Linked DNA regions of Homo sapiens: all the other regions are linked to region 1. The links are contacts of gene promoters, found by promoter capture Hi-C in blood cells and fetal thymus (Javierre and others, 2016). All regions are on one chromosome and are shown on one strand. Each heading gives the region's core, a stretch centred on a gene start or on the middle of the fragment in contact. The rest is flanking DNA. Distances are from core to core; before and after follow the strand shown. Region 1 holds the start of BMS1 (BMS1 ribosome biogenesis factor). Region 2 holds the start of ZNF32-AS1 (ZNF32 antisense RNA 1). Region 3 overlaps ZNF485 (zinc finger protein 485). Region 4 has its middle 8.6 kb from the start of ZNF239. Region 5 overlaps ZNF487 (zinc finger protein 487). Region 6 holds the start of HNRNPF (heterogeneous nuclear ribonucleoprotein F). Region 7 has its middle 10 kb from the start of FXYD4.

Region 1 (4,323 bases), core at 787-3,286:
AACAGTTTAAAATTTAGGAACAAACAAAGTCTATAAATTCTTGTATCCTGGGCAATAAACACTAACCAGTATGCAGATGCTGGAGGCAAGGCAGCTTCTATGGGAAAAGCTTCTCACGTTTTAGTGAAAGCCACACACCATGAATCTCCATGTCCTTTGGAGCTGGACTAGACTCGTGAATCCAAATGTCACCTGTGAGAGGCTCCTACTATTTAAAAAAAGAATCAATGGAAGAATGACCAGACCGTAGCCTAACATACCTGTGAAAGGATCGAGCCATCCGCACAGCAGACTGAACTGCAAAAGCTTTGGGATTTCTCTTCCGGGCATCTTCTTCGTCTCCTAGCTGGAGATCCTGCAGAAGCCGCTTCTTTTTCTTTGCAGCTTTGGGTCCACTGTTTTTCTTTCTGTGTTTCTTCTGGTCCTTAGCCTCCATAGTGGCTATTTACCAATAACAAGTAACTCTAACCTACAAGGAAGAAGGTTGGGGTAAGGAGATGGGAGAAGCATTTTACAATCCAGGCAATACCCAGGGAAAAACAGTAAATTTCATTTATTTCTTTATGAAGAGATGATGTATTTGTTCACTGAACAAGGGTAGAAACTGCTTAACCATCCCCAATTTCATTTCTCTCTGTTATGCTATAAATTAGATGAGTTACCTCTCTTAAGATTACATTTTATGGTTAAGTTACTTTTTATTCATCTTAAGTGTCAACATCAGCAGTATCTATTTCTGCAAGGATAGAAATATACTATATCTGTACTTTTCAGCCATTTAGCCATTAGCCACATGTGGTTACTTACAATATACTTAGGGAAACTGAAAAAATGAGTTTTTAATTAATTTCATTCTAACTCCAAATAGTCACATGTGGCTACCATACTGGACAGCTCAGACCCAGGTATCAACTGGACTGATGAAGTGGTTTCCTAACTTAAACTAAAACTTAAATTTTAATAAAAAAATGTGAAACGTTTTTATGAACCTCCAATATGATCGCAGTATTACTTTTAGTACCTGTTGACTCTGTAAAACTCCTAAATTACAACTTATCTACATACATTTGAAAAATAGAAATAGCTGTACGTGTGAGATAGGACTGGTTCTAGATGACACCTGGAGACCCCATGAACTTACAGAGACCCTTCCAGTGATTTCTGAGTTACCTGGGAATCTGTGGCTAATAAATTGGCAATCACTGAATTAGTGAGTTATTTTAGGAAATCGGGCTGCATAAAATCTGACAGCTTGATTAAAAAAAAAAAGCGGAGCAGGATGCCATTTCATTCAATTAAGGTACTGTATTCATTCCGTTGAATAAATATTTGTGTCTGTCTACGATGTGCTAGGCACTGTGCCAGTAAGTGGATACAGCTATTATCTGACTTGCAGAGGAAATCCAAACTATTATCTTCCGCGCCACGCAATAAGGGCGACATTGGAAGGCTGCACAGGGTGCTACTGGAGCACGGAGGTGAGTCAGAGGCTTCCCACAGACACACACCAGCGGAAACAAAGTCTTTATGTATTACCATAATGTCAAGAACACTGGCCAGGAGTTAGGAGAGCTGGGCGCTAGGAACGCTTTGAAACCGAATAGCTGTGTGATTTCAGAGATTATGTTTCTTCTCTGCTATATTTTAGTTCAGCACTTGTACTAATGTTTCTCTCCCTGTCTTTCTTCTTGGTGGGAAAAGCACAATTTGGGGTCAACAGATCCAGCTCAGGTCTAAGTCTCCTACCGGGACCACGTCGCCAGGAAACGACGTCGCCCAGCCACCTTCCCTCCCCGTCTGGGCTCTCTGCAGGGATTCATCACGTCACTCACCCAACTACCCCAGGACACCTCCGCCAGATGAGAAATATGCCGCTCCTCGGGAGCAAAGATGACCCGGAGGACCGGGGGAGGACCTTCCCACACGCACGACTCGCGATCTTCCCAGTGCCCCAGAACCAGGGACCCCACCGCCGCCTACCCCAACCCGCAGCACCGAACCTGCTCGCAGCCGCGACTCCTCAGGTCAGCATGGACACCGCCGGAAACGGAAATTCACAGTCGCGCTGACTCGCCGGAGGGAAACAAGAAGGCAGAAAAAAGAGACCGGCATGGGGACGGCTTTCAGGGGAGAGCCTGAAGAAAGAGGGCTGAACAGCTGAGTGCGGACGCAGGCGCCGTCCGCGCAGTGCGTTCCACCGGGTCCAGGTCCTTCCAGATTCCTCTCCACCCCGCCCTCGGAATCCGCGGCCTCAACTTCCGCGGTGGGACTCCGGAGCAGCGTGCGCCGCGCTCGCCTGAGTTCTCGCCGAAGGCCAGGGCGGCTCTGCGGCCTGGCGCCGGTTAGTTAGTGTGGTGCAAAAGCCGGAAGGAGACACATTTGGTCCTGGCCTCCCGGCAGTCACCGTGCCAAGGACGAATGGACTATCGCTTGATTTGGAGTACACTTCCTCCTCTTTAAAGATTACAGATGAGGGGGATCTCGCGTTCTGGGGTGCCCTAAAGCCCTCTTTTGGCAGGGCGCAGTGGCTCACGCCTGTAATCCCTACACTTTGGGAAGCCGAGGAGGGAGGATTGCTTGAGCCCAGGAATTCAAGACAAGCCTGGGCAACATAGGGAGCCTACCTCTCTCTCTTAAAAAAAAAAAAAAAAAAAATTAGCCGGCATCGTGCCGGGCGCCTGTGGTGCTTGTGGTCCCAGCTACTCTGGAGGCTGAGGTGGGAGGATCGCTTGATCCCAGGAGGCGGAGTCTGCAGTGAACTGAGATGAGCCACTGGACTTCAGCCTGGGCAACAGAGCAAGACACTGTCTCTAAGAAAAATAAATAACATAAGGCCCTCTTTTGCCAGGACCAACAAACCGTGAGGGCAGGGACAAACTGACCCAGCCTAAACTGCCTCGCCCTCCCTAAACCCGGGAAAGGGGCTTTACCTGAGTGAACGTAGCATCTTGCCGTTTTCTTACTGCACAGCTTTACCTTCCCAGGGATCCGCCCATTGCCACCTGAGGAAATGCCTTGGAGTCCATCTAATCCCCAGCCCAGCTACTTGGGAGCCTACAGAGCGTACATTGTCAGAGGATGCATCTTCCTTTAGTCTTGGAGGGTTTCTTTTCAATATGATCCCGCTGGTGCATTCAAGGCTCAATTCTACACCAAAAACTAGGCCCACTCCTGTCACGAGAACCCCAGGCGTCAGGTCTTCTCACAGGCACCTTGTTCTTGCCCTCAGCAGCCCCCAGGTATTCACTCTGCATATTCTAGATACTGGGTGCTGGACTTGGGAGGCTACCCACGTGGCACATGCTTCCCTTATCCCTGAAGAGCTTAGAGTGTTGTAACTTCTTCACACTACACCTCTTACTTCTTGAAGATTTCAGTATCCAGGTAGATAATCCTTCCAACATCCTTTTGGTCTCATGAAGCCCACTCCTGTCCTCTGCCCTACCTCAGCTTCCCCCTCCCTCCATGATCAGACCTTAGACCTTGTCAGGTCCAAGGACTGCAACCCCCACAGTATCCCACTCTGACCAGGTCTATCTATCCTCCTATCTGTCCAGGTCACTCCCTATACTGCCCTGAAACAAAACTCCTGCAACCTTACCAGCACCTCCAATCAAGATCTTACTACTTGTTCACTGTTTCTTCCTTTATGACCCTCTCTAGTGAGCCAGCTTAAACTCAATGGCCAACCATTCTCATTGATCCCTTGCACACCTCCTCAACTCATGCACCTCCCTGTCATCTCCTATCTGCTTGGTAAGATGGGAGCCCTGGATAAACCCAGCTCTCCATCTATTCCATGCCACGACGATGCAACTAAACATGGCTGGAGGAAAACAGGACCATGCCAGCCGTCCTCACTTTAATCATTCTTTGCCTGGTCTATTCAATCTCCCATTGTTCCAAGTGAGTATTTCGCACTTCCTCCTCTCTGTTCAATCCTTCCCACTGCCTCTCCCTTCCTTGCCTCCTGCTTTGCTAAGAGAATAGAAGTGGTAAAAGTCTTCCACAGACTCCCACGTCCACCTCCACCCATCCGCCTCTTATTGCCTCCCTGTGACTGTGGATGAACAACTGCTAGGTCCACCCAAAGAATCCTGCACTGGACTGCTGGATCCCATCATCTCTTACTGCTCCAGGGTGTCACTCCAGCCAGCCTATCCTCTCTGCAACATCAGCAATATTTTCCTTTCTACTGGACTCTTCTCATCGTCACATAACATGCAGCTATTTCTCTCATCTTCAAAACAAAGAAATTACTCGACCCTATTTCCTATACCAGGACCTGCACCTTTTCTATGTTCCCCTTTGCAGCAAAACTTC
Region 2 (4,323 bases), core at 611-3,110, 860 kb before region 1:
ATGGACCCATATTTAAAGTGCACCAGGAGGCTCAGATGCAGGGCAGTATTCGGAAAAAAAAAAGTCAATATCTGCATAGAGAATAACTTCCAAACCAAAATTGATTTCAGTTTTGCCATAGCTTAGTAGACTGAAAATAGCAAGGATTTTAATGGGAAAAATTCCTTGGATCAGATTCTATAATTGCCATGGCTAGATCTGCAGTATCAGACAGGTTATTTAACTTCCTTAAGCTCCAGGTTCGTCTGTAAAATAGGACAATAAGTTCTATCTTGTAGGGTTGCAGGGATTAGCAATGATAGATGTAAAGTACCCAGGATTGTGCTACATATTTTCTGAGGTCATGGTGCTTATTCTATTGTCAGAACAGATTGGACAGAGGTGGATTTCTGAAGAAGCAAATGCAGCTTCAGTTTTAGGACCCCTCACTTGGATTGGTCTCTCCAAGACCCTGTGCTTAATTTTATACATTTTCTTAAAAGGGTGCCTCTAAAATGGGAAAGTTTTAGGCCTTATATAGCCTGGATCCACACCTGTTTTGGAGTCAGATAAAAGTTGGGTATGGGGCTCTGTGTGATTCTGTATAGTTTTCTAAATTTTCTGAGCCTGTTTTCTGACCTGTAAAATAGAGAAAACCATGTCTATCTTACAAGGTTATTTGTTGGCCTAAATTAAATTTAGAGGCAGTACACTGCTATGGAGAATGCCTATTTGAGTCAGCTCTAACTTACCTAGCTCTGTGACCTTTGACAGGCTCCCTTTGCTCCCATTATCTGTATCACTCTCATGGCATTGTTTTCAGGATTGCATTGTCTATGCAAAGAATAAGGCCTGGCACATCATAAGCACTCAAAGTATTATGTTTCTTTTTCCCTATTCTAACTCAGCATTATTGGTGCTTCTTATATGACTTCCCTCTCATTTTATCAGATGTGATGACTGAAGCCCACCACAAATATGACCACTCTGAGGCTACAGGATCCTCAAGCTGGGATATCCAAAATTCTTTCAGAAGAGAGAAGCTGGAACAAAAATCCCCAGATTCGAAGACACTACAGGAAGATTCACCTGGAGTGAGACAAAGGGTCTATGAGTGCCAGGAGTGTGGAAAATCCTTCCGGCAAAAAGGTAGTCTAACGTTACATGAGAGAATCCACACTGGTCAAAAGCCTTTTGAGTGCACCCACTGTGGAAAAAGCTTCAGGGCCAAAGGCAATCTTGTTACACATCAACGGATACACACGGGAGAGAAGCCTTATCAGTGCAAGGAGTGTGGGAAAAGCTTCAGTCAACGAGGTAGTCTCGCTGTCCACGAGAGACTCCACACTGGACAGAAACCCTACGAGTGTGCTATTTGTCAGAGAAGCTTCAGGAATCAGAGTAACCTTGCTGTTCACAGGAGAGTTCACAGTGGTGAGAAGCCCTATAGATGTGATCAGTGTGGAAAAGCCTTCAGTCAGAAAGGAAGCTTAATTGTTCACATCAGAGTCCACACAGGCCTGAAGCCCTATGCCTGTACCCAGTGCAGGAAGAGTTTCCACACCAGGGGGAATTGTATTCTGCATGGCAAAATCCACACAGGAGAGACACCCTATCTGTGCGGCCAGTGTGGAAAAAGCTTCACCCAGAGAGGGAGTCTGGCTGTGCACCAGCGAAGCTGCTCACAGAGGCTCACCCTTTGACCACTTTCCTGAAGAGAAGTTCTCTTTATGAATTAAGAGTACAAAATCCTCTGAGATGAAGCAACCTATCCAGTTCTATGGAATGAATGGAGAATCTTTCAGAAAGACCATCATTGGGTAGGGCAAACTGATTTTTTTCCTTTCCCCCAAAAGAGTATGAAAAATAAATGTCTTGTTTATTATCATTATCATGTATGTTTTATAATTTCTGTCACTTTATTCTGACCTGATTTTTCAAGGTACCCCCATTAATCTGGTGCCACACTAGAGATTGTTCTGTGTATACCCAATACAGATTTTAAATTTGTAGTTGACACCATCAGGCTTTTATAAATGTAAAAAATCAGCCCCTCATCAATCCCAAGTTATTTTTCTTCCTTACATATTCAAATTAATCTTGTTTTGCCTTCAAAACCACTGGGCAAAATCCATGGGGCAAATCTAGTTACCTTTATAATCTTCTTGTTGAACATTTCATTACCTGGATGATACCCCCAATAACCTATTGTAACTAATCACTCATGTCTATAGCAAGGGGCCTAGCCTTTTATTACAAAAGAAAATTTCTTTCCAAGCCTGCACAGCCTTAGTTTGTGCATTGAGACATACTTCAGTCCTCCACTCCTAACTAGGATAGAGATAATTCACCTGTAACCAAAGAGCAAACAACTACTGTCTGTGCAATTTTTAAAAATCTTTAACCCATTTCTCCCCATCTACTAAAGGGACTCCTACATTTTCAGAGACCTTCACTCCCTCTTTGGTAACAGCAGCAATATCTTGGGGTTGGGTTATCTAGAAAGGATATAAGTGTTATTACTGAACCCAGACTTGTAGTTTGTAGTCAATAATGAACTTCCACTTTCCAACAATACTATCCTCTTCCTCCTGCACACACACCAAGAAATTTGGAATTCTAACCCATCCTTTTTTCTGACCTCCAGGGGATGAGATTTGAAGAAGGCTGCAGAGGAGAAATTGGTTTTGAGGGGAAATTTCCATTTCCATTTTTTAAAATCTTAGCCATCTCTATAATTTTTCATACTGAGCATTTATGTAAGTGAAATGATGAATGATAGAGATTTTGGTTTTCTTGGTAAGACACCATTCCATCCTTTCTAGTGGATCCTATAAATCAGTGGTCCCCAACCTTTTTGGCACCAGGGACCAGTTTCATAAAGACAATTTTCCCACAGAGGGGGATGATTTTGGGATGATCCAAGCACATTACATTTATTGTGCACTTTATTATTATTACATTGAAGTATATAATGAAACAATTATAAGGTACTCACCATAAGGTAGAATCAGTGGGAGTCCTGAGCTTGTTTTCCTGCTACTAGACAGTCCCATCTAGGGGTGATGGGAGACAGTGACAGATCATAAGGCATTAAATTCTCATAAGGAGTGCACAACCTAGATCCGTTGCATGCACAGTTCACAATGGGGTTCACACTCTTATGAGAATCTAATGCTGCCACTATCTGACAGGAGGCAGAGCTCAGGTAGTAATGTGAGCAGCAGGCAGCAGCTGTAAATACAGATGAAGCTTCGCTTGCTCTCCCACCACTCACCTCCTGCTGTGTGCCCCAGTTCCTAACAGGCCACAGACTGGTACTGATCCATGGCCCAGGGTTGGGAACCCCCTGCTATAAATTATTGCTTCCTTAATCCCAAAAAGCTTGTAATAGTAAATCTTTACCATGTAGAGAGGTAAATTTCAAAGGTCTTTGAGCACTGAAACAATTTGGAAACACTGGATTCTAATAATACAAAAATATTCCAAAGATACCACAATAACATTTGAAGCTGTATACAAGAATGTTCATGTCATCTTCATTTATAATAGCCACACACTTAGAAATGTCCAACAATGGGTGAGGGATAAAGAAACTGTAGTATATCCATACAGTGAAATACAACTCAGCAATAAAAAAGAACATACACGTGGTACATCAACAATATGGATGAATCTGAAAGTTTTATTTGAGTTGAAGAAGCCAAATACACAAATAGTATAATTCCACTTATGTGCCTTCACAGAACAGGAAAAACTATGTGTGAGGATTGACTTGAAAGGCACGCAAGGGAAGTTTACAGAGTGAAAACAATGTTCTGTACCTGACATCAGGCAGTTGATGCAGGGGTCTAAACAATTACCAAAATTCATTGAACTCGATGCTTAAGATCCGTGCATTTTATTACATGTAAGATATACTTCAGTAACCATGAAACAGTATAAATGTATTGCCCACAAGCTCTTTGACACTCATCCCATGAAGAGATGGGGGGTATGTCACCACCACTTGAATCTGGACACGCTTGTGACTGCTTCAAACAATAGAACACAACAGAAATGATACTACACCAAGTATAGTTCTGAAAAGCCTCTAAAAGGTCTGAAAAATTTCTGCCTGGTTCTCTTGAGACACTTCCTCTCAGGTGAAACCAGCCCATGTAAAAAGTCCAGTTATCCTGAAATCACTGTCATGGACAAGCTGCATATAAATGCTCCAGCCAACAGTTTCAGCTGAGCTCCCAACAGCCTGCCAGCCATGTGTGAGGGTCATTGTAGGTTTCCGGCCCAGTAGAACCTTCACATGACTGCAGCCCCATCTGACATCTGGCCAAAACTGCATGA
Region 3 (4,323 bases), core at 1,246-3,745, 830 kb before region 1:
GAGTCTCGCTCTGTCGCCCAGGCCGGACTGCGGACTGCAGTGGTGCAATCTCGGCTCACTGCAAGCTCCGCTTCCCAGGTTCACGCCATTCTCCTGCCTCAGCCTCCTGAGTAGCTGGGACTACAGGCGCCCGCCACCGCGCCCGGCTAATTTTTTGTATTTTTAGTAGAGACGGGGTTTCACCTTGTTAGCCAGGATGGTCTCGATCTCCTGACCTCATGATCCACCCGCCTCGGCCTCCCAAAGTGCTGGGATTACAGGCGTGAGCCACCGCGCCCGGCCGGGGGTGCATTTTAACTGCAACCCATCACATAAGGTCTGGTGTAGAATTTTGTACCTGTTGGTGCTCAGACAAATTTTGGATTTTGGAGCACTTCAGATTTCAGATTTTCCAGTTATGGATGCTCAACCTATACTACATCCTCATCAAAGATAACTGCTGTTAGCTGAGTGTGGTGGTACGTGCCTGTAGCCCCAGCTACTCCAGAGACTGAAGTGGGAAGGTTGTTCAAGCCCAAGTTCAAAACTACAGTGAGCTATGATCACATGGCACTCCAGCCTGGGTGACAGAGTAAGAGCTAGTTTCTTTTAAAAAAAAAAAAAAAGAGAGAGAGAGAGAGATAACTGCTGTTAAGATTGGTCTTTATTTGTCCAGGTCTTTTTGAATGCATATAATATAGATTTCCTGAAACTTGCTTCTTTAACAAGGGTATATTGGGTATATTATCATGGGTATATTTCTACTGTTGTATTTTTTTACTTAGAGATGGAGTCTTGCTATGTTGCCCAGGCTGGAGTGCAGTGGCTATTCACATGCACAATCATAGTGCATTACAGACTCAAACTCCTGGGCTTAAGCAATCCTGTCTCAGCCTCCCAAGTAACTGGGACTACAGGCATATGCCACCATGCCTGGCTTTGTACAGTATTTACAGCTCCACCTCATTCTTTTCAATTAGCACACAGTATGCTATAACTACTTCCATACTGACATACATTTAGTTTCTTCAAATATTTCACTAGTAGAACCTCACAATGAATATCCTCACAAGTGATGTGTTCTCTCAGAAGTACAGAGTATTTCTGTTAAATGCATAATTTATTTAATGTCTCCTCTATGATGGTCAGAAGGAATAAACTACTCTGCACAATTTGCCACACTAACTACATTTCATGGCTCTTTCTTTATTATGAATTTTCTTATGTTGCTTAAGGGCTGAACTTCGGGGAAAAGCTTTCCCACATTCATTACATTTATAAGGTTTTTCCCCAGTATGGAGTCTCTGATGTTCAACAAGGCCTGAGCTGTGCCGAAAGGCTTTCCCACATTTCTTACAGTGATAGGGTTTTTCTCCAGTATGAATTCTCTGATGTCCAGTAAGGGTTGAGCTCTTTGTAAAGGCCTTCCCACAGTCACGACACTGATACGGTTTATTTCCACTGTGAGTTTTCTGATGACCAGCAAAGGATGAGCTATACCTGAAAGATTTTCCACATTTACTGCAGTGATAGGGTTTCTCCCCAGTATGCATTCTTTGGTGACTAATAAGAGTTGAGCTCTTCCTAAAGGCTTTTCCACATTCATTACACTGATATGGCTTCTCACCAGTATGGATTTTCTGATGTTCCAACACAGTTGAATTATCCCTGAAAGCTCTCCCACACTTGTTACATTTAAAAGGCTTCTCTCCACTATGTATTCTTTCATGACGAGTAAGAGCTGCATTCTGAGCGAAGGCTTTCCCACAGTCATTACATTTGTAGGGTTTCTGGCCAGTATGAATTCTCTGATGACTTAAAAGGATTGAGTTCTTTCTGAAAGTTTTTCCACATTCAATGCATTTGTGGGGTTTCTCCCTAGAATGAATTCTCTGATGGTTGATAAACGTTGAGTGCTTCTTCAGGAACTTCCCACATTCAATACATCTATAAGGCTGTTTGCCTGCATGAACCTTATGGTGATTTAAAAGGGATGAACTGTTCATAAAGGCGATCCCACATTCTTTACATTTATGTGGTTTCTCACTGGTGTGATTTCTCTGGTGGCTAATAAAGGACGAATTGTATTTGAAGACTTTCCCACATTCCTTGCACTTATAGTTCTTCTCTGTGGAGCTTCTGCCCTCCCAGTCCAGGCCTTTTTCCATCATGACACTTTTCGTTCGCTCTCCCAGAACAGATGCTTCAGAAGTGCTTTGCTTTAGGGCTGACATCTTTGTTTCAAACCAGTAATCCTCGACTGAAAGAAAATTTTAAAAATTCAAATGTTCTTTATGTTGAAATGCTGAAAGTGAGAGTTGTGCAAGGACTTGAATAATGTTCTATTCTACATAACTAAAGGTTATGAAAAATTATTAATGTGTCCCACTTGTGATTCTTGCTGAGAAAAGATGGCCAGACTAAGGGCAGGAAAAGGAAGTATGATTTTAAAGAAAAGAAAAGAATCTGTACTATAAACATTGCATTTAAAGAATGCAGTGAGCCCCTAAGAAGTTGCCAAGTTAGGAAGACAACACAGGAAACAGCTAAAAAAGAAAAAAGACAATGTGAGAATAAATACAAAATTGAGGAGAAAGCCCAGAGTCACAAAGCAAGCTATAATTACTACTAGGGCAGATTTCTGCAGGTGGTATATTTGAGAACATTATGATGTCACCAAGAACTTGAGAAAAATAGTTCTCTGTGAGGATTTAAGAGTGAACCAATATTTAATTGCTCAGTGGAAAAAAGAAAACAGAAAAAATATTCAAGGAACAAAAATAGTTCTCAGGCCAATAAGATTTTACTATAAACTAAATTTTTAACATATCTAAAAAACAACATACCTATGCCAGGCACGGTGGCTCATGCCTGTAATCCCAGCACTTTGGGAGGCCGAGACGGGTGGATTACTTGAGGTCAGGAGTTCGAGCCCAGCCTGGCCAACATGGCAAAACCCTGTCTCTACTAAAAATGCAAAAACTAGCCAGGCATGGTAGCACATGCCTTTAATCCCAGCTACTCGGGAGGCTGAGGCAGGAGAATCGCTTGAACCCGGGAGGCAGAAGTTGCAGTGAGCTGAGATCATGCCACTGCACTCCAGCCTAGGTGACAGAGCAAGACTCTGTCTCAAAAAACAAAAAAAAAATTACCAATCAATGGGTGTACTATGTGAATTTTCTCTAGCTTTTTACAAAGTACAGACACAAGACCTAAGACAGACAGAGCGAAATGATTCAGACAAAAACGTTCTGAAAAACTAATAGAGCCAAACTTGTAGTAAAATTAACAATCACCAACCAATTATTTTACTAAATGCGCTTTTCTTATAAACATAAGTTGTATCTATCTATACCTAAAGATATATACACATACATATATTTATATGTATTTATACTTAGTAGTCTGGGGAGAAATTCCATGCAATGGATATTAGAGCTAAGACTTATTTTTTCAAGGAAATGTAAGTTGAAGGTGAAGCCCAGTCAGAAACAGCCCACATTCTTCCAATGGCCTTTGATGGGATATGTGTTTAATGTATTATGATCAAACTAGAGAAAATTTCAAGATACTGATTGTAAAGCTGGCAACGTGAAGACACATATGGGCACTTCTTCTATGACAAAGGTGGTCTTGCAAAGCAGTGAGGAAGAGGAGATTCTGCATTAGTACATTTTAGGAGAAAAAAAATATATAAACCCTAACTCATATGATGCACAGAAATCCATTCTAAGAGGATGGTAAATGTAAACATAAAAACCAAATAATAAAGCTTCTAGAAATTAACACAGAAGAATATCTTCATGATCTCGGGAAAAGAAAAAATATTAAAATCACAAAAATAATAAATGTTAGTAAATAATTGTTAATATATAATTTAAAATAAACATTTTAAATAAAGCATGACACAAAAAAGCACTGACAAAAAAGAAAGGGATTGATCAAATGGAAGAACTGGGCTGGGCACGGTGGCTCATGCCTGTAATCCCAGCACTTTGGGAGGCTGAGGCAGGAGGATGGCTTGAGGCCAGGAGGTCCAGACCCACCACCTGGGCAACATAGCAAGTCTCCATCTCTACAGAAAAAAAACATGTTTTGAATTAGCTGAGCATGGTGGCATGTGTCTGTAGTCCCAGCTACTCAGGAAGCTGAGACAGGATTGCTTGAGCCCAGAAAAAGGAAGAACTGCTATTCATCAAGACCATTAACAGTCAGTAACAACAGAGAGAGGGATGGTACAATACATGTAATCAATAACAGGCTCTTCAAATAGTTACCCAATCAGAGATGCTCTATAGGGACCAATAAATATTCTAAAAGGTCTTTTTTTTTTTTTTGATACGG
Region 4 (4,323 bases), core at 507-3,006, 800 kb before region 1:
GAAGCTCAGGACAAGTGGACCAGCCAGCAGGACCCAGATCATCCAATCCCGCTGATCCTAAGACGAGACCAAGCTGCTGTTAAAGACAACCAGCCTGCTGTGGTCACTCCGGAAGCTGACCAGTCTACTCATGGCTGAAACTTGAGGAGACAACAAGCCCTGCTCTAGTCATACACCGGAAGCTGACTAGTCTATACATGGCTGAAGCTTGAGGACTCATCAAGCAAGTAAAGGTGGTTAGAAATCTTAGGACTAGTAGTTTTCCTTGTAATACTAACTGTTTTCCTATTGTTCTGTTGCTGTGCTCAACCTCCTCCCCCTCTTCTGTCCTTGCTGGATATGAATATGCCATACATTGTTTTGCTGTTGTTACCCCCCTTAACCATGCTAGAAGAAGCACCTATAGAAGGGTGTCCCCACTGTACACATACTACCTGGTCAAGGAACAGTATAACTATAACTCTATCGTACCATACTTATAAGTGTACAAGGACTCACTTAAGAACTTGTACTTACAATCAGACCACCTATTCAGTCTGTGACCCAGAGGATGGCCAGCCTTATGTATACTATGACCCTAAATTTTCACCTGGTGAATGGTTTGACATTCACGCAGAGTCAAAGGAAGGTCCCCTTTTAAAACCAGACCAAGGTCCCTCTTTTTTACCAAGGGCCTATTTCTCTGTACTTTGATGCCTGTCAGGCAGCATACCTAGACTCACCTGTCTGTGGTAACTTACCTTTAGAAAGATACTATAGAAATGACTACAAATATGTATGCATGCCAAGAGCAACTCCACCTTGTTCCCCTGGGACCCCAGAAAAACATTGTCAGTAATGCATATCATGGCACCCTAGCACACAACAAAGGCCAATTATGCTTACTGAAATGCCGGTAAACCAGATTATGAAACAAAAACCTGTAATCCTGTAAACTTCACCATTCTAAAGCCAGACCTACCCATGTGGACTGCAGGTTGCCCCATACATGTCTACATACACACATACCCAGCAACTTACCTATATGTTATCAAAAAAGGAACCCGGAGCCGTCCAGCCCAGCAACAGTTCCAAGTCTTTAAGTCATTCTATAAGCATGTAGACCAAAAGTTACCAGAGCCTCCTCCTGTAGCCAAAAATCTGTTTGCTCAGTTGGCTGAAAACATTGCTGGCAGCCTAGGCATTTCCTCATGTTATGTTTGTGGAGGAACTAACATGGGAGACCAGTGGCCTTAGGAAGCAAAAGAGTCAATGCCACAAGATAATTTTACTCTGACTGACTTTTCCCCCAAACCGATGCCCACAAGTTCAAGCGTCTGGCTCTTAAAAACTTCTATTAGGCCAGGCGTGGTGGCTCACTTTGGGAGGCCAAGGCGGGCAGATCATGTGAGATCAGGAGTTTGAGACCAGCCTGACCAACATGGAGAAACCCCATCTCTACTAAAAACACAAAATTAGCTGGGCGTGGTGGTGCATGCCTGTAATCCCAACAACTCGGGAGGCTGAGGCACGAGAATCGCTTGAACCTGGGAAGCTGAGGTTGCAGTGAGCTGAGATTGCACCATTGCACTCCAGCCAGGGCAACAAGAGTAAAACTCCATCTCAAACAAACAAACAAACAAAAAAGCCACTTCTATTATCAGGAGATACTGTGTTGCTTACTGGGGAAAAGCTTTTACAGACCGAGTAAGAGAATTAACATGCTTAGGACAGCAATATTATAATGAAAACCTAAGAAAAACTTTGTGGCGAGGTAAAAATCGTTCCAAATCACCTCATCCAAATCCATTCTCCTGCTTTCTCTTCTGTAAATCACACCTGGTATCAGCCTGAAGCTTTTTGGATGTGAATCCACTGAGCTGGTGAGTTCCTTAAATAAACATCCTCCTGTATTCCCCATATCGGTCTCTCTGGTCCTCAGTTTACCGCAACAGGCATGATAGATTTGTCATGAACAATAATAGCTATAGCAACCTGTCAAGAGGTAAGTAATATAAATATATGTAAATTCAGACAACTAAAAGTCAAAATGGGGGGATAGAGTTAAAGTGTAGAACTGGTCTTTTTTTCCTTTTTTGTTTATCTTCTTTTCTTTGTGATCAAAGTTTAGCTGTCATCTGTTTAAAATAACTTGTTATATCTGTAAGATACATTTTTTGGTTTCCTCACAGGAACTACAATGCAAAAAAAAAGAAAATAGATTCACTGCAAGTAAAAAAAACAACGAATTAAAACATACTACCAAAGAAGATCACGTAGCCACAAAAGAAGACAACAAGAAAGGAAGAAAGGAAGACAAAATTACAAAATAACCAGAAAACAAACAAGAAAATGGCAGTAGTAAGTCCTTTCTTATCAATAATAAAACAGAATGTAAATGGACTCAATTCTCCAATTAAAAGGGTTAGAGTGACTGAGTAGATAAAGAAATAAGACCCAACTATATGCTACTACAAGAAACCCACCTCACCTCTGAAGACACGCATAGACTGAAAGTGAAGGGATGGAAAAAGATGCTTCATGAAACTGGAAACCAAAAGACAGCAGGACTCACTATACTTAGATCAAATAGAATACAAAATAAGACTGTAGAAAGACACAAAAGGGGTCACTATATAATGATAAAGGGATCAATTCAGCAAGTGGATATAATAATTATAAATTTGCATGCAACACCAGAGCTCCCAAGTTTAAAAAGCAAACATTAATAGGTCTGAAGGGAGAGATGGCATGCAATACAATAATAGTAGGGGACTGTCTCAGTAATGGATAAATCATACAGACAAAAAAAATCAATAGAGTAACATCACAATTAAACTGCACACTATACTTAATAGGCCTAAGTAACATCTACATAACATTTGCCCAAATGCTGCATAACACACATTATTTTCATCAGCACATGGAACATTTTCCATAATAGACCACACCTTAGGCCACAAAACAAATCTCAATAATTTTTTTTTTTTTTTTTGAGACAGAGTCTCACTCTGTTACCCAGGCCAGAGTGCAGTGGCCTGATGTTGGCTCACTACAGCCTCTGTCTCCCAGGTTCAACCAATTCTCCTGCCTCAGCCTCCTGAGTAGCTGGGATTACAGGTTCCTGCCACCATGCCCAGCTAATTTTTGTATTTTTAGTAGAGACAGGGTTTCACCATGTTGGCCAGGCTGGTCTCGAACTCCTGACCTCAAGTGATCCACATGTCTTGGCCTCCCAAAGTGATAGGATTATAGGCATGGCCACTGTGCCCAGCCTCAGTAAATTTTAAAAAGTAGAAATCGGGCCAGGCGTGGTGGTTTACACCTGTAATCCCAGTATTTTGGGAGACTGAGGCAAGAGGATCACTTGAGGCCAGGAGTTTGAGACAAGCCTGGCAACAAAGTGAAACTCCAACTCTACAAAACATTTTAAAATTAGCTGGGCATGGTGGCACATACCTGTAGTCCTAGCTACTCAGGTTGTTGAGTGGGGAGGATCTCATAAGCCCAGGAGGTCAAGGCTGCAGTGAGCCATCATCATGCCACTGCACTCCAGCCTGGGCAACAAAGCAAGACCCTGTCTCAAAAAAAAAAAGAAAAAAAAAGTAAAAATCATATCAAGTATCTTTCCTAACTACAATGGAATAAAACTAGAAATCAAGAAGAAAAGAAATGTTAGAAACTTCACAAACACATGGAAACTATGCAACATGCTCCTGAGTGACCAAAGGGTCAATGAAGAAATTAGGAAGAAAAATTTAAAATTTCTTGGACAAATGAACAGGGAAATACAACATACCAAAATCTATTGAACACAGAAAAAGCAGTACTAAGAGGGAAGTTTTTAGCAATAAACACCTTCACCAAAAAAGCAGAAAGACAGGCCAGGCACAGTGACTCCTGCCTGTAATCCCGGCACTTTGGGAGGCCGAAGTGGGAAGTCTGCTTGAGGCCAAGAGTTCGATATCAGCTTGGACAAACACAGTGAGACCTCATCTCTACAAAAATTTTTAAAATTAGCTGTTGTAGTGGCACATACCTGTAGTCCCAGCTACTCGGGAGGCTGAGGTGGGAGGATCACTTGAGCCTGGGAAGTCGAGGCTGCAGAGAGACATAATTGCACCCCTGCACTCCAGCCTGGGTGACAGAGCGAGACTCTGTCTCAAAAAACAAAGAAAAAAGAAAGAAAGAGTAGACAGACTTCAAATAAAAAATCTAACAATGTGCCCCAAGGAACTAGAAAAGCAAGAACACACTTAATCCAAAATTAGAAGGGAAGAAACAATAACTATCAGAGCAGAAATAAATGAAGTTGAGGTAAAATATATATATATATATACAGAA
Region 5 (4,323 bases), core at 1,297-3,796, 700 kb before region 1:
GTGTGTGTTCTCTGATGTGTTGTGAGGGATGACTTCTGGTAGAAGGTTTTCCCACATTCACTACATGCATAGGGTTTCTCTCCTGTGTGGGTTCTCTGATGTACTGTGAGGGATGACTTGTGGTAGAACATTTTCTCACATTCATTACATTCATAGGGTTTCTCCCCTGTGTGAATTCTCTGATGTTCTCTAAGTTTTGACTTCACAGAGAAGGATTTTTGACATTCATTGCATTCAAAGGGTCTCTCTCCTGTGTGAGTTCACTGATGATTAATGAAGTTTGGCTTCTGGGAGAAAGTTTTCCCACATTCCTTACACTCATAGGGTTTCTCGCCAGTATGTATTCTCTGATGTACTTTTAGAGCTGACCTATCACCAAAGGCTTTCTGACATTCATTACATCCATAGGGTTTCTCTCCTGTGTGTGTTCTCTGATGTACATGAAGATTTGACTTCTCACAGAAGTTTTTTCCACATTCATTACATTCATAGGTTTTGTCCCGTGTGTGTTCTTTGATGTACTGCAAGGCATGACCTATATCCAAAAGTTTTCCCACATTCAGTGCATTCATAGGGTTTCTCTCCTCTGTGTATCCTCTGCTGTAGGATAAAAGAGGATTTATGGCTGAAGGTTTTCCCACATTCACTACATTCATAGAGTTTTTCTTCTGTATCTGTTTTCTGATATACAGAATGCTTTGGCTTACAGCAAAATGTACTAGCATACTGATTAATTTTATAGGCATTCTTTCCTATATGTGTTTCTTGATGTTGAGTGAAATTTGGCTTCTTGCAGAATACTTCCAAATGTCTACTACAGTCAAGTTTTCTCTCCTCTGTAACTTTGTAGAATGAGGAGTGATTTCTTGCCAAAACTATTCTCACTCGCATTACACTCATAGTATTTCATCTCCATAACCCTGTGGTGTTTATTTACAGGTGGCCTCTCACCAGACCTCCTCTCACATTCATTGAATTCATGGTGACTCTTCCTTATGTGAGTTCTCTGATGAACAATGAATATTGGTCTATCGGAAAAGGCTCTCACATGTTCATTATATTCACAGGGTCTCCCATGAGCACACTCTCTTATGGGTACTGCAGGCTGCCTCTTCATGAAAAGCCTTCCCACACTGATTGTATTCAAAACACTGCTTAAGAGTTTGAATATACTGATGCCTAAATAAGTCCTCATTCTGAGAGACGGCTTTCCCATTTCCATCATATTCCAAAGGTTTCCCTCTGGCATAAGGATTCTCACGCTTCATACAGAGGAGAAATTTCCCACGTACATTACACTCAGCAGGGTTCCTTACAAAGGAGCTTCTATTACTAATAATTAATTCTGAAATATTATTCAAATTCATTCCAGATGAGTCACAGTTGCCACGTATTTTTCTTGATAGAATGGGGTTTGTGTCAAGAGAAAATGTTTTTCCTAATACACCATTTCTGTCCATAGTCAGTGTTTTATTGTTGACAAAATCAACTTTCTGCAAATGCTGGTCTTGATTTTCCTGTCTCTTCTCCATCAGGTCATCATCTATGCAGCAGTCTAGAAATAATAATAAGTTATCACAGATTATAAATGTTAACATATTTTTCATGAAAAAGAGACATATTCACATGCTTTTTTTTTCTTTTTTTTTTTGGCACAGTGTCTGGCTCTGTCACCCAGGCTGGATTGTGCAGTGGTGTGATCATGGCTCACTGCAGCCTCAACCTCCCAGGCTCAGGTGATGCTCCCACCTCAGCTTCTCGAGTAAATGGGATTACAAGTATGTACCACCATGCCTGGCTAATTTTTTGTATTTTTTGTAGAGATGGAGTTTTTTGCCTTGTTACTCAGGCTGGTGTCAAACTCCTGTTGCCCAGGCTGTAATGCAGTGGCAGCATCACAGCTCACTGCAGCCTTGACCTCCTGGGCTCAAGAAATCCACCTGCCTCGGCTCCCAAAGTGCTGAGATTACAGGCATGAGACACTGCACCCGGCCCAGGCTGTTCTTATAACAGGATCATATGCATACCTTTATTCATCTAGAATATCATCATCTAACTCATAGTCTGAGATTTCACTTATGCGATCAATTATACTGTAATTATTAGAGTCTACAGTGGTTCTGCTTCATCTTCTGATTTGCCTAATAATTGTGAAGAGTCTTCCTCTTGTCAATTTTCTACTCTTTGCAATTAATGGAAGAAAATAAAAGCTCTGAACTCTCAACTGTGCCCATTGAATTATTAAAAAAAAAAAAGAGAGAGAGAGAGAGGTGGGCGCAGTGGCTCACGCCTGTAATCCCAGCACTTTGGAAGGCCAAGGAAGGTGGATCACCTGAAGTCAAGCGTTCCAGACCAGCCTGGCCAACATGGCAAAACCCCATCTCTACTAAAAATACAAAAATTAGCCAGGTGTGGTGGTGTGCATCTGTAATCCCAGCTACTCGGGAGGCTGAGGCAGGAGAATCGCTTGAACCCGTGAGGCAGAGGTTGCAGTGAGCCGAGATCATGCCACTGCATTCCAGCCTGGGTGACAGAGTAAGACTCCATTTCAAAAAATAAAAAAATAATAATAAAAAGTGGCCAGGTGCGGTGGCTCACGCTTGTAATCCCAGCACTTTGGGAGGCTGATGGGGGTGGATCACGAGGTCAGGAGCTCGAGACCAGCCTGGCCAACATGGTGAAACCCTGTCTCTACTCAAAATACAAAAATGAGCTGGGTGTGGTGGTGCGCACCTGTAATCCCAGCTACTCAGGAGGCTGCAGCAGGAGAATGGCTTGAACCTGGGAGGTGGAGCTTGCAGTGAGCCTAGATTGTGCCACTGCACTCCAGCCTGGGCAAGAGAGCAAGACTCCATCTCAAAAAAAAGAAAAGAAAGAAAAGAAAAGAAAAGAAAAGAAAGAAGGAAGGAAGGAAGGAAGCAAGGAAGAAAGAAAGAAAAAGAAAGAAAGAAAGAAAGAAAGAAAGAAAGAAAGAAAGAAAGAAAGAAAGAAAGAAAGAAGGAAAGAAAGAAAAGAAAGAAAGAAAGAGAGTCAGGTGCAGTGGTTCACACCTGTAATCCCAGCACTTTGGGAGGCCGAGGCAGGAGGATCACCTGAGGTCAGGAGTTTGAAACCAGCCTTGCCAACACGGCAAACCCCGTCTCTAGTAACAATACAAAAAAATAAAAAATAGCCAGGACACAGTGGTGGGTGCCTGTAGTCCCAGCTACTCGGGTGGCTGAGGCAGTAGAGTCACTTGAACCCGAGAGGCGGAGGTTGCAGTGAGATGAGATCACACCACTCCAGTCCAGCCTGGGCAACAGAGTGAGACTCCATCTCAAAATGAAATGAATAAATAAAATAAAAACAACAAAAAAAAGAAAGAAACTACAAATAAGGTTTCTCCAGGCTTCTTTTATATTTTTGTCACAAGTAATGCTTCAAGCAGCTCAATAAGAAAATTGAAGGATGATGTAATAGTGACAGTGTTCTTTACTATTCTATTATCCTTACAAGCAATTCCATCATTCTTTTCTATTTTAGTTTATTTTACCACAGTTGGACATAATTGATGAGTAATGTTGAAATAATTGCTAAGAAATAACATACCAAAATGTTTCAAACTTAAGAAAAATAGATCACTAAAATAGTATCATGCTTCTTAGATTATAAATGGGACCAATTCACTCAAATGATAACAGCAAAAACAGAATGAGTTTCATTCAATTAAAAAATAAAAGTAGGCCAGGTACAGTGGATCAAGCCTCTAAACCAGCACTCTGGGAGGCAGAGGTGGAAGAATTGCTTAAGGTCAGGAGTTCAAGACCAGTCTGAGCAACACAGCAAGACCTCATCAGTACAAATTTATATATATATATACACACATATATATGTGTATATATGTGTGTATATATATATACACACATACATACATACATATATTCACACACACACACAAATATATATATATATAAATTTTCTCTTTGTTTATCTAAGTTAGAAAAAAAATTTTTTTGAGATAGGATCAAAAGAGATCGGCTACTGCACTCCAGCCTGGAAGACAAAGCGAGACTCCATCTCATTAAAAAAAAAAAGAAAAAAGAAAAAAGAACTGCATCAAAAATAAACTCAAAAGCTAAATTTGGGTCCACTGAGAGGTAACATTCTATTTTGTTTATTATTTGGACCATATATCATTTATATTCCTTTTATATTCTAAGGTTTCATGTTCACATTTCATATATGATTCTCAAACTCCATATAGCTTGATTTTTGTTTTGTTTTTACAGACAGGCTCTTACTCTGTCATCCAGACTGGAATGCAGTGGCATGATCATAGCTCAC
Region 6 (4,323 bases), core at 885-3,384, 630 kb before region 1:
ATTTAAATTGGCTACTTGAATTTTTCTCTCCAGAAACATCTTTCTACAGCATGAGCTGTGATGCAGTCACTGTATGACTTTTTTTTTTTTTTTGAGACAGAGTTTCGCTCTTGTTACCCAGGCTGGAGGGCAATGGTGCAATCTCGGCTCACTGCAACCATCACCTCCTGGATTCAAGCGATTCTCCTGCCTCAGCCTCCAGGGTAGATGGGACTACAGGTACGCGCCAACACGCCCGGCTAATTTTTTTTTGTATTTTTAGTAGAGACAGGGTTTCGCCATGTTGCCCAGGCTGGTCTCAAACGCCTAACCTCAGGTGATCCACCCACCTCGGCCTCCCAAAGTCTTGGGATTACAGGCGCGAGCCACCGCGCCCGGCCGGCCACAACTTCTTAAGAATACCTACCTATCTGATTTTCGCCCCTTTCCTATGATGCTGAATACCTATCTGATTTTTGCAGGAACTATTTTCTGTAATTTTGCCTCAAATTATGCAGTTTTCTCTTTGGACATTTTTACCTATTCTGACAGCTCCTGCTTTACTCTTTCCATTCTCTTTCTTGGAACTAGCTTTTTCTTTTAACAAACTCCTTCCTTCATCACAATCATCCCACTCATCATCTGACACTATTTTGAGCACTCCTTTACTTTCTCTGGTGATTTAAAAAATAACGTTCAGCCAGATGCGTGGCTCAATCCAGTAATCCCAACACTCTGGGAGGCGTAGGTGGGCGGATGGCTTGAGTCCAGGAGTTCCCGACCAGCCCGGGCAACACAGCGAAACCTCGCCTCTACAAAAAATACAAAATTTAGCCGAGAGTGGTGGTGCTACTCAGGAGGTTGAGGCAGGAGGATCGCTTGAGCCCAGGAGGTCGAGGCTGCAGTGAGCCGTGATTGTACCACTGCACTCCCGCCTGAATGACAGGGCGATACTCAGTCTGGAAATAATAACAATAGTAACAATGTTCAGCTTAACCTGTGATGAGTGCCTTGACATCATCTCTTCATGAAGAAGATCCACCAAAATAAAATGGTTACAATTATTAGCCCTACAATACATCAAAAAAAAAAAGAAAAGAAAGAAAATCTGTCCCTGGCTTAGCCATTAGCCACCAAATCTGTGTGTTCAGGTGCTCTGTGACTGAAAATCTTGCCCTCGACCTGGGTCTGAGTTACATTCTGAGGTTTGGGGGCTTCTCACACCACGGAATTTATCACCTGAGCAACTTCAACCTGACAAATCCCTCCTAACGCCCTGCTCTGAGACCCCTTTAGGCGGTCTCCGGAGTACTCAGTGTACCTTTTTTTTTTTTTTTTCTTTGAGACGTAGTCTCGCTCTGTCGCTAGGCTGGAGTGCAGTGGCGCGATCTCGGCTCACGCAAGCTCCGCCTCCCGGGTTCAAGCGATTCCCCTGCCTCAGCCACCCGAGTGGCTGGGACTACAAGCGCGCGCCACCACGCCTGGCTAATTTTTTTGTATTTTAGTAGGGGTTTCACTATGTTGGCCAGGATGGTCTCGATTTCCCGACCGCCTGATCCGTCCGCCTCGGCCTCCCAAAGTGGTGGGATTACAGGCGTGAGCCACCGCGCCCGGCCTTCAGTGTACTACTTTCCTTATTTTATTTTTTGAGACAGCGCCTCGCTCTGTCGCCCAGGCTGGACGCAATGGAGCAGTCACGGATCACTGCAGCCTCGACCTCCCGGGCTCAAGCGATTCTCCCGCCTTAGCCTCCCAAATTACTGGGACCACAGGCTTGCGCCACCACGCCCTGCCATCGGCTCTCATTTCCTTTTCCCATCCTAGTCTTCCATCAGGCGTCCTTTCGGCGCACATTTCAGTGTCCTGCGGGGCTCACCAGTGTCCTTCCTCCAGGGCCTCAGGGGCAGTCAGAGGGATCTTTCCCGCCGCTCCACTCCCTCCTCCTCCTCCCCCTCCCCCTATCCCCTCCCCTCCCCTCCCTTCTCCTCTCCAGAAACGTCCTCGCTTGTCCGCCTCCACCGCCTCCCCCGCCAGCCGTGTCGGCTCTGCTCCGCGCCCAGCCGGCCAACCGGCGGCTCAGCTCTGGCGCGTCACAATGCGCCGTCGCGGCCCCGCCCCCGGACGCCGGACGCAGAAACTCCGCCCTGCCGCGGTCCTTGCGTCCTTCCGGCTCCGTCGTGGAAGCAGGACTGCGCCGCGTCTTCCTCAAGGTGGGGTTCGGGGGGCCACCGAATCGCTGTCACGCCGGCAGGTAGCAGGGGGTGGGGACGCGGGCTCCTTGGGCTTCTGTTTCCTGGTGTCCAGGGCAAAGGGCTGAGCCGGGCAGTAGGGCCTAGTCGGGGCCTGGCTCGCCGGGAGCAGGAGGGCTTCCGGCAAAGCCGCGTGCGCTCGACGGGCAGGCGCTGAGGATTGGGGCCGGCAGCGCGCCTGACCCCGCCCCTCGTAGGCTCCGCCCCGTGCTCGCAGGCGGGGGTTTCCATGGTGATGGTCAACAAGCCTCAACTGCCTCTGCTACAACTGCCAAGTTCCCCGCGTCCCACCCTCCTCTAGGTGCTCCAAGGGACCACCGGGGTGCCTGATATGAGAGCGGGAGTGTAGAGACTCGGAGGCCGAGGTGAGGGGCGGCCGAAGTCTCCGAGGTCGAAGGCCGCACACCCGGGACCTAGCGGGGACCGGGTCCCCCTGGGGGTGGGGACGGGGGGTGGGATTTGAGATTAGGGAGACTATCCGAAGTCCAGGGCCCCGTACCCGGACTACCTGGGGACTGGGCCTATTGGGGTGGGGATCGTTGGGCTGGGGCTGGGATTTGGGATCAGGGAAGAGCGATCTGAGTTTAAGCGCCGCAAACCTGGGACCGAGCGAGGACTGCACATAATGAGGGGCCGTGGCGCTGAGATTTGGGTGACGGGATTCGAGGTCGAGGGGCCCGTACGTGGGACCGGCAAGAACTGGACCCACTGGGATCGGGAGACGCAGCGTCGGAGGTCGAGAGCCGCACGCCCAGACAGTGGTCCCACGCGGTGAGCACCGCGGGCTGAGATTTTGGAGTCAGGAAAGCGCGGGGAAGGCACGGACGGCCGGGTGCGTTAGTCCGGCCCCCTGGCGGGGAGCTGGCGACTGCCGGAGGGCTCTGAAAGTGAGAACAGGCCTGGCGCAGTGGGAGGCCCAGCCGGGAGGATCTCTTGAGCCCAGGAGTTCCCGACAAGCCTGGGCAACATAGACTGTCTCTACTGAAAAGTAAAGAAAAAAAAATTAGCCACGTGTGGTGGCGCGCGCCTGTTGTCCCAGCTACTCGGGAGGCTGAGGCGGGAGGGTCGCTTGCTCTGAGGTCGAGGCTGCAGTGACAGTGATTGTGCCACTGCATTCCAGCCGGGCGACGGAAATGAGACCTTGTCTCAAAAGAAGTAATAATAGTAATAATACCTGAGTAAAATGAAAGCCGCGCGCTCACGTGGCTGCAGGCGCCTGAGAGTTGCACAAGACTTCCTTGTGGGGAGTTGGCTCCGCCCTCCTCCCACGCCCGGTTCCCGTAGCCTTAGCTCTCGGCCCCGGGCCCTTTTTCCTCCTCGGCTGCGCCGCGTGTCCTCGGAGCGCGGTCCCTGTATTGGTCTCCTGCTCCTAGAGGTATCGTGTTTGTATTTGGGGTGAAAATCTGACTCGTGCGCGCTCTTCAGCTTAGTCGTCCTTTTTTTTTTCCTTTTGTTTGTTTGTATTAAGTATTTTCGTCGATTCCGCCCTGCTCGTAGGAAACTTGTGGACGGGGCCCGGCTCCTGCTGCGCCGGCTGCCCGGCTCCCCCAACCGCAGAGTCGTGGACCAGGGTTTTGAGGAGCAAGGCACCCGACTCGCCCTCCCCCCAAGGCCGCCCCGGGCGCGGGAACCCCTCCCCCTAGGCGCCTGGGACCCCCGCTCGGCTCCGCGTGTGTCCCGGCGGAGGGTGGAAGGAGAGCCGAGCTCGGCCATTGCCCGCGGGCGGCCCGGGGACGAGCTGACGCGCCTCTTTAGTTCTCGAAACTGCTCGCGGGCGCTGGGGGCTCGGGCCGGCCATCTGCGTGGCGGGACGCGAGGCGCGCGCTGGCGGCTGCGCGCGAAGGGCAACGGGCGGCGGCGGCGGCTTCCCGGAACCGCGCGGGGCGGGCCCTGCGCCGGGGTCAGGGCCACAGCCTCAGGCGGCAGGGAGTTCTGAAAGCGTAGTTTTCAGTCGTTCCGTCCCAAAAGTCATCTTAATTCTTCCAAAAATACACGCATATAATTCTTTCTACTTAGTTATATTTTTAAAAGTTAAATACGTGGTTGTCTCTGAATTCCTAGTAAGATGAAAATTTCTTGGGTTCTCCAGGTAGGT
Region 7 (4,323 bases), core at 744-3,243, 580 kb before region 1:
GTCTCCGGCTTAGCCTGATGGGCCAGAACTCAGCTGAGAAGGCTGGAAACTTGGGCGGAGCAGGCTGCCCTGTGCTCGCTACCAGGGCAGTGTGACCTTAGCAAGACATTTCTCTTCTCTGGAACAGTTTCCCTCTGGGGTCTCTCTCATGGTGGCCCCCTTTATCCTAGGTTACCAATCTTACCATGTATGTCTCAGGGCGCTTCCCAACTACAGTAACAGCTCTTGTAAACTGAGCAGTCACTCAACTGAGCCCTGTCTTCTGAGTTCATGCAGCATAATCAGATTCAAAGTAGACTCAGTCACAGTTCCCATTTTACGGATGAGCAAACAGGCAGAAAGAGGTAAGTCGGGGGCGCACGCAGCAAGTTAACAGCCTGAATTTGACTCCAAAGCTTGTGCTGTGAACGGTGCTTCTGAATCTTGAGGTTAACAAGCTTTCTTCACAACCTGTCCTGGGAGGGATTAATTCCACAAATGTGTACTGAAGGCTGAGCGTGGACCACCCCCTGCCCCTTGCTGCCTGTGCGTGGTCATTTTTTTTTTTTTTTTTTTTGAGACGGAGTCTTGCTCTGTTGTTGTCAGGCTGGAGTGCAGAGGCGCAATCTCGGCTCACTGCAACTTCTGCCTCCCAGGTTCAAGCGATTCTCCTGCCTCAGCCTCCCAAGTAGCAGGGGCTACAGGCGCGCGCCACCACGCCCGGCTAATTTTTAGTAGAGATGGGGTTTCACCATGTTGGCCAGGATGGTTCTCCATCTCTTGACTTGGTGGTCCACCCAACTCGTCCTCCCAAAGTGCTGGGATTACAGGCGCAAGCTACCGCACCCAGCTTAGACTGTCTGTTTTGAGGCAGAGGAGGAAATCCGAGGTCCCTTGCCCCGAGGCCTTTCCCAGCTGTCTCCACGAGGACTACTGGACTCCCGCCTGGACCCCCGCCCTGTGAGTGTCCCCTGCTCTTCCCGTCTCTCCGCAGATTCCTCGGGCCCATGGATGTGGAGCCCACTCCCTTGGAGGGCCCTGGGGAGGGAGGCAGCCGACTCCGCTCACCCCCTGCCTGTGCTAGGCAGGCGAGCAGCGTCAGGCGCGGCTGCTGTCCTAGGGCTCCGCCTTAGGCTGACTCCCGCGTGTAGGGCAGAGATGGGACAGGGCCCTTAGCGCAGGGGGCTTTGGGCCCTGAGGACAAGGCGGCACGGAAATGGGGCGGAGATCTCCCCGGCAGCGACGACCCTCGGGACTCTAAAAGTTAGGCCCACTTAGGCCGCCAGAAACGACCCCACGGCCTCTGGGAGGCCTTCCCGCAAGGGGCCGCGAGAGAGCCAGAGGAAGGAGGACTGCGCTGGCCGCCAGCCAATCAGCACCAAGGAATGTCTATGAGGCTGGCTCGCGGGAGAAACCGCCAGTGAGGCGAGGGCCCAGGAGGTGTGGGCGGGGCTTTCCTCCGCGGAAGTGGTCCCGACCCCCTTCGCGTGGATTGGCTGCTCCCACTCACCTGCAAGCCCCTGCTCTACCGCGCTTGCGCAGTCGTTTTCCGTGTAACGCGCGTCTCGGGTTACTTCTTTGCTTGAGTCTCAGTCCATTTGTTTACCCATATGTGCTGCGCTATGTCGTGATGGTGGCGGTCTTCGGTAACGGGGACCTTGGAGGCTGGGAGGGATAACTGGACGTGAAGGGCCAGCACTGGGGGCGAGCTCAGGGCGGTCAGGGCGGAGGGATGGGCGCGAAGAGTGAGGCCTGCAACCCCGCAGGGGGCCCGGGACCCTGGGGAGTTTCCTGCTGGGGTGAGACAGTTGTTAGGTTTGCATTTCAGAACGTTCTGGTAGGGGCTGTGTAGCAGGGTGAGAATGAAGACCTGTGCAAGAAGAGAAGCCGAAAGGGTTCAAGATGGTAGGCAAAGTCATTTGTCATCAACGTTTGCTCGTTCCGCACCTGGGAGAACGCGAGTGCTTTCCTTCTACTGCACAGGTCACCTCTTAGCCCCCTGTTGCAGCTCCTACTCATGCTTCTCCTATACCAGACTTCTTAGCTCTTGGGCACCTCCCTTTCATTTCCTGCAGGCACTTCACAGTCAACAACTGTTAAACTTTTCCGTTCCCCCACCATCTCTGACCTTTCAGAATTTCCCATCTCAGGTGGGTCTCTTTCCCACGTGGTCCCACAGGCCACCACTAAACCCAGTCATATGGAGATATCTGCTGAAATGTGTGCCAGCTCCTCAGGATATGACCCCCTCAAGGACATGGACAGTGGTCCAAAGTCACAGCGCTCAGCATACAGTCTGACTCCACCAAAGGGAAGTTAGGCAACTCGGTTCCCTGTCCCCCCCGCCCCCCCAGTGAGAGCCCATCCTTCTAGTTCTTCCATATCTCACGTATTCAATCTTTTCTCTCCATCCTAATTCTCATCCTCTCCCAAGGACCACTGTGAGCCATTTCCACTCTGTCCAATTCAACAATTGCCTCACCTGGGAAGCCACCTTTCCTGTTCACCTGCCTCCCCTCTGGGAGGCCCACCTTTCCCAAACCCCACATCACAGGTATGGGTGTATCTGTCTTGACCACTCACCTCCCTTTTCTCCCAGGGCTGTGATTTCAGGTCACTCAGCTTCCTGTCCCAGAGACCTTGGCACATGGATGGAATTCATTGTGGGAACTGGATGGATGTGTGAATTAACTATTGAGTAAAATGATTGATAAATCACTTGAGTAGAAAGGGCGCCATGGCTCACGCCTGTAATCCCAGCACTGGGAGGCCTAGGCAGGTGGATCCCTTGAACCCAGGACTTCGAGACCAGCCTGGGCAAAATGACAAGACCCCGTCTCAATAAAAATAAATAAATTGGCCGGGCGCGGTGGCTCACGCCTGTAATCCCAGCACTTTGGGAGGCTGAGGCTGGTGGATCATGAGGTCAAGAGACCGAGACCATCCTGGCCAACATGGTGAAACCCCGTCTCTACTAAAAATACAAAAACTAGCTGGGCGTGGTGGCGCACCTGTAATCCCAGCTCCTCGGGAGGCTGAGGCAGGAGAACTGCTTGAACCCGGGAGGCGGAGGTTGCAGTTAGCTGAGATCGCGCCACTGCACTCCAGCCTGGCGACAGAGCGAGACTCTGTCTCAAAAATAAATAAAATAACTGAGTAATATTTGGGTGGATGGATACACTTTTGGATGGATAATTAGGTCTTAACCCCCTCAGCAGGCTCTGAGATTTGGCTGCTCCCTCCTGGAAACTCACCTCTCTGACCTCTCTCCTTAGCTGGAGACCACCAGGCCCACTGCCTGCCTCCTGTCTCCACATGCATGTCTCATAGTTTGCTGAAACTTGACATTTCCTGAAATAAATACTTGGTTTCTTCTTTAAACCACCCCGCCTACTCTCTGTGCTCCATCCAAGTGGTAAAGCCGAAGGCCTGAGCATCATCCTAGACTTTATTTGCCTCCAAATCCCCATAACCAATCAAACAATTCTTGTCCATTCTGCCTCCTAAACAGCTCTGTGACTCACCCCTTTCTGTCCTCCTGTGACACACGTAAAGTGCAGTACAAGCTTTGGCATTCTAGGCCCCGCTTCAATCCCTTCTTGGGCAGTCTCCCTCAGCCCTCTCTTGCTGAACCCTAGAAGCTCCTGCTATTTCGTTTCTGGGCCACTCTTCTATTCCCGTATTTATGTAATAGAGTAGTCTTTGAATGTTTGCTCTCATTTCTGAAAAACCACATATCCATTCCACAGTTTTATGTTGCTAAAGTTTCTCATCATAAGCTCAAATAGTTGCAAAAGATACAATTTCTGGTATGTTTTAATATTTATATTTTAAAGTAAAATGGCTACATGAGTTGTAATATATCTAGTGGAATCTGAACACCATACATACCATTTTTTTTTGAGATGGAGTTTCGCTCTTGTTGCACCATACTATTTTTATTCCAAATCTCCATTTGAAGATTTACTTAACTCTTGTTTAATATTAGTTACTCCATATTGCCGCCTCCTTTTTTTTTTTTTTGGCCTGAGTTGAGTCTATTTCCTTCCTCTGTCACCCACCGAACTTAACCTAAGTAATATATTTTTATTCTTGGAAGTCTTCTATTTTTGAGACTGAGTCTTGCTCTGTCGCCCAGGCTGGAGTACAGTGGTGCGATCTCGGCTGACTACAACCTCCACCTCCCTGGCTCAAGCAATTCCCCTGCCTTGCTTCAGCCTCCTGAATAGCCGAACATCACCATGTCCGGCTAATTTTTTTGTATTTTTTGTAGAGATGGGGTTTCACGATGTTGGCCAGACTGGTCTCAAACTCCTGACTTCAGCCAATGTGCCCATCTGGGCC

The links. The method cuts DNA at HindIII sites, captures the fragments that hold promoters and counts their contacts. A CHiCAGO score of 5 or more calls a contact.
Region 2: the fragment with the promoter of ZNF32-AS1 here is called in contact with the fragment with the promoter of BMS1 in region 1 in 1 of 17 cell types (total CD8 T cells); the score reaches 5.2 in total CD8 T cells.
Region 3: a contact is called between a fragment that was not itself captured here and the fragment with the promoter of BMS1 in region 1, in 1 of 17 cell types (naive CD4 T cells). The highest score is 5.2, in naive CD4 T cells.
Region 4: a contact is called between a fragment that was not itself captured here and the fragment with the promoter of BMS1 in region 1, in 3 of 17 cell types (total CD8 T cells, total CD4 T cells and naive B cells). The highest score is 6.8, in total CD8 T cells.
Region 5: a contact is called between a fragment that was not itself captured here and the fragment with the promoter of BMS1 in region 1, in 1 of 17 cell types (neutrophils). The highest score is 5.5, in neutrophils.
Region 6: a contact is called between the fragment with the promoter of HNRNPF here and the fragment with the promoter of BMS1 in region 1, in 4 of 17 cell types (naive B cells, naive CD4 T cells, naive CD8 T cells and 1 more). The highest score is 8.0, in naive B cells.
Region 7: a contact is called between a fragment that was not itself captured here and the fragment with the promoter of BMS1 in region 1, in 1 of 17 cell types (total B cells). The highest score is 5.2, in total B cells.

Annotation. Positions count from the first base shown.
Region 1 is chr10:42,780,508-42,784,830 of GRCh38, reverse strand. It overlaps BMS1 (BMS1 ribosome biogenesis factor), which reads right to left and starts at 2,036. Exons shown (of 23, transcript NM_014753.4): 1 at 2,001-2,036; 2 at 261-469. The coding sequence starts at 436. RefSeq lists an enhancer at 1,856-2,205. The HindIII fragment of the contact is 6,696 bases long and covers 309-4,323 here.
Region 2 is chr10:43,641,409-43,645,731 of GRCh38, reverse strand. It overlaps ZNF32-AS1 (ZNF32 antisense RNA 1), which reads right to left and starts at 1,860. Exons shown (of 2, transcript NR_047557.1): 1 at 1,625-1,860; 2 at 685-882. ZNF32 (zinc finger protein 32) reads left to right here. Exons shown (of 3, transcript NM_006973.3): 3 at 931-1,870. The coding sequence ends at 1,682. The region is part of intron 1 of ZNF32-AS3 (ZNF32 antisense RNA 3); the gene reads right to left. RefSeq lists an enhancer at 1-96. The HindIII fragment of the contact is 1,613 bases long and covers 1,621-3,233 here.
Region 3 is chr10:43,614,207-43,618,529 of GRCh38, reverse strand. ZNF485 (zinc finger protein 485) reads right to left here. Exons shown (of 5, transcript NM_145312.4): 5 at 626-2,239. The coding sequence ends at 1,161. Among named protein-coding and RNA genes, the nearest start is that of ZNF485, 9.9 kb to the right of the region's middle. The HindIII fragment of the contact is 2,517 bases long and covers 1,237-3,753 here.
Region 4 is chr10:43,581,061-43,585,383 of GRCh38, reverse strand. No RefSeq gene overlaps it. Among named protein-coding and RNA genes, the nearest start is that of ZNF239, 8.6 kb to the right of the region's middle. The HindIII fragment of the contact is 163 bases long and covers 1,675-1,837 here.
Region 5 is chr10:43,478,661-43,482,983 of GRCh38, reverse strand. ZNF487 (zinc finger protein 487) reads right to left here. Exons shown (of 4, transcript NM_001355444.3): 4 at 1-1,555. The coding sequence ends at 1,062. Among named protein-coding and RNA genes, the nearest start is that of ZNF487, 44 kb to the right of the region's middle. The HindIII fragment of the contact is 5,148 bases long and covers 1-4,323 here.
Region 6 is chr10:43,406,997-43,411,319 of GRCh38, reverse strand. It overlaps HNRNPF (heterogeneous nuclear ribonucleoprotein F), which reads left to right and starts at 2,134. Exons shown (of 4, transcript NM_001098204.2): 1 at 2,134-2,189. RefSeq lists silencers at 1,715-1,944, 2,395-2,514, 3,795-4,164 and enhancers at 2,235-2,294, 3,025-3,364, 2,804-3,407, 3,375-3,424, 3,565-3,624. The HindIII fragment of the contact is 6,154 bases long and covers 1-4,323 here.
Region 7 is chr10:43,359,469-43,363,791 of GRCh38, reverse strand. No RefSeq gene overlaps it. Among named protein-coding and RNA genes, the nearest start is that of FXYD4, 10 kb to the left of the region's middle. RefSeq lists enhancers at 1,603-1,692, 1,290-2,202. The HindIII fragment of the contact is 3,108 bases long and covers 440-3,547 here.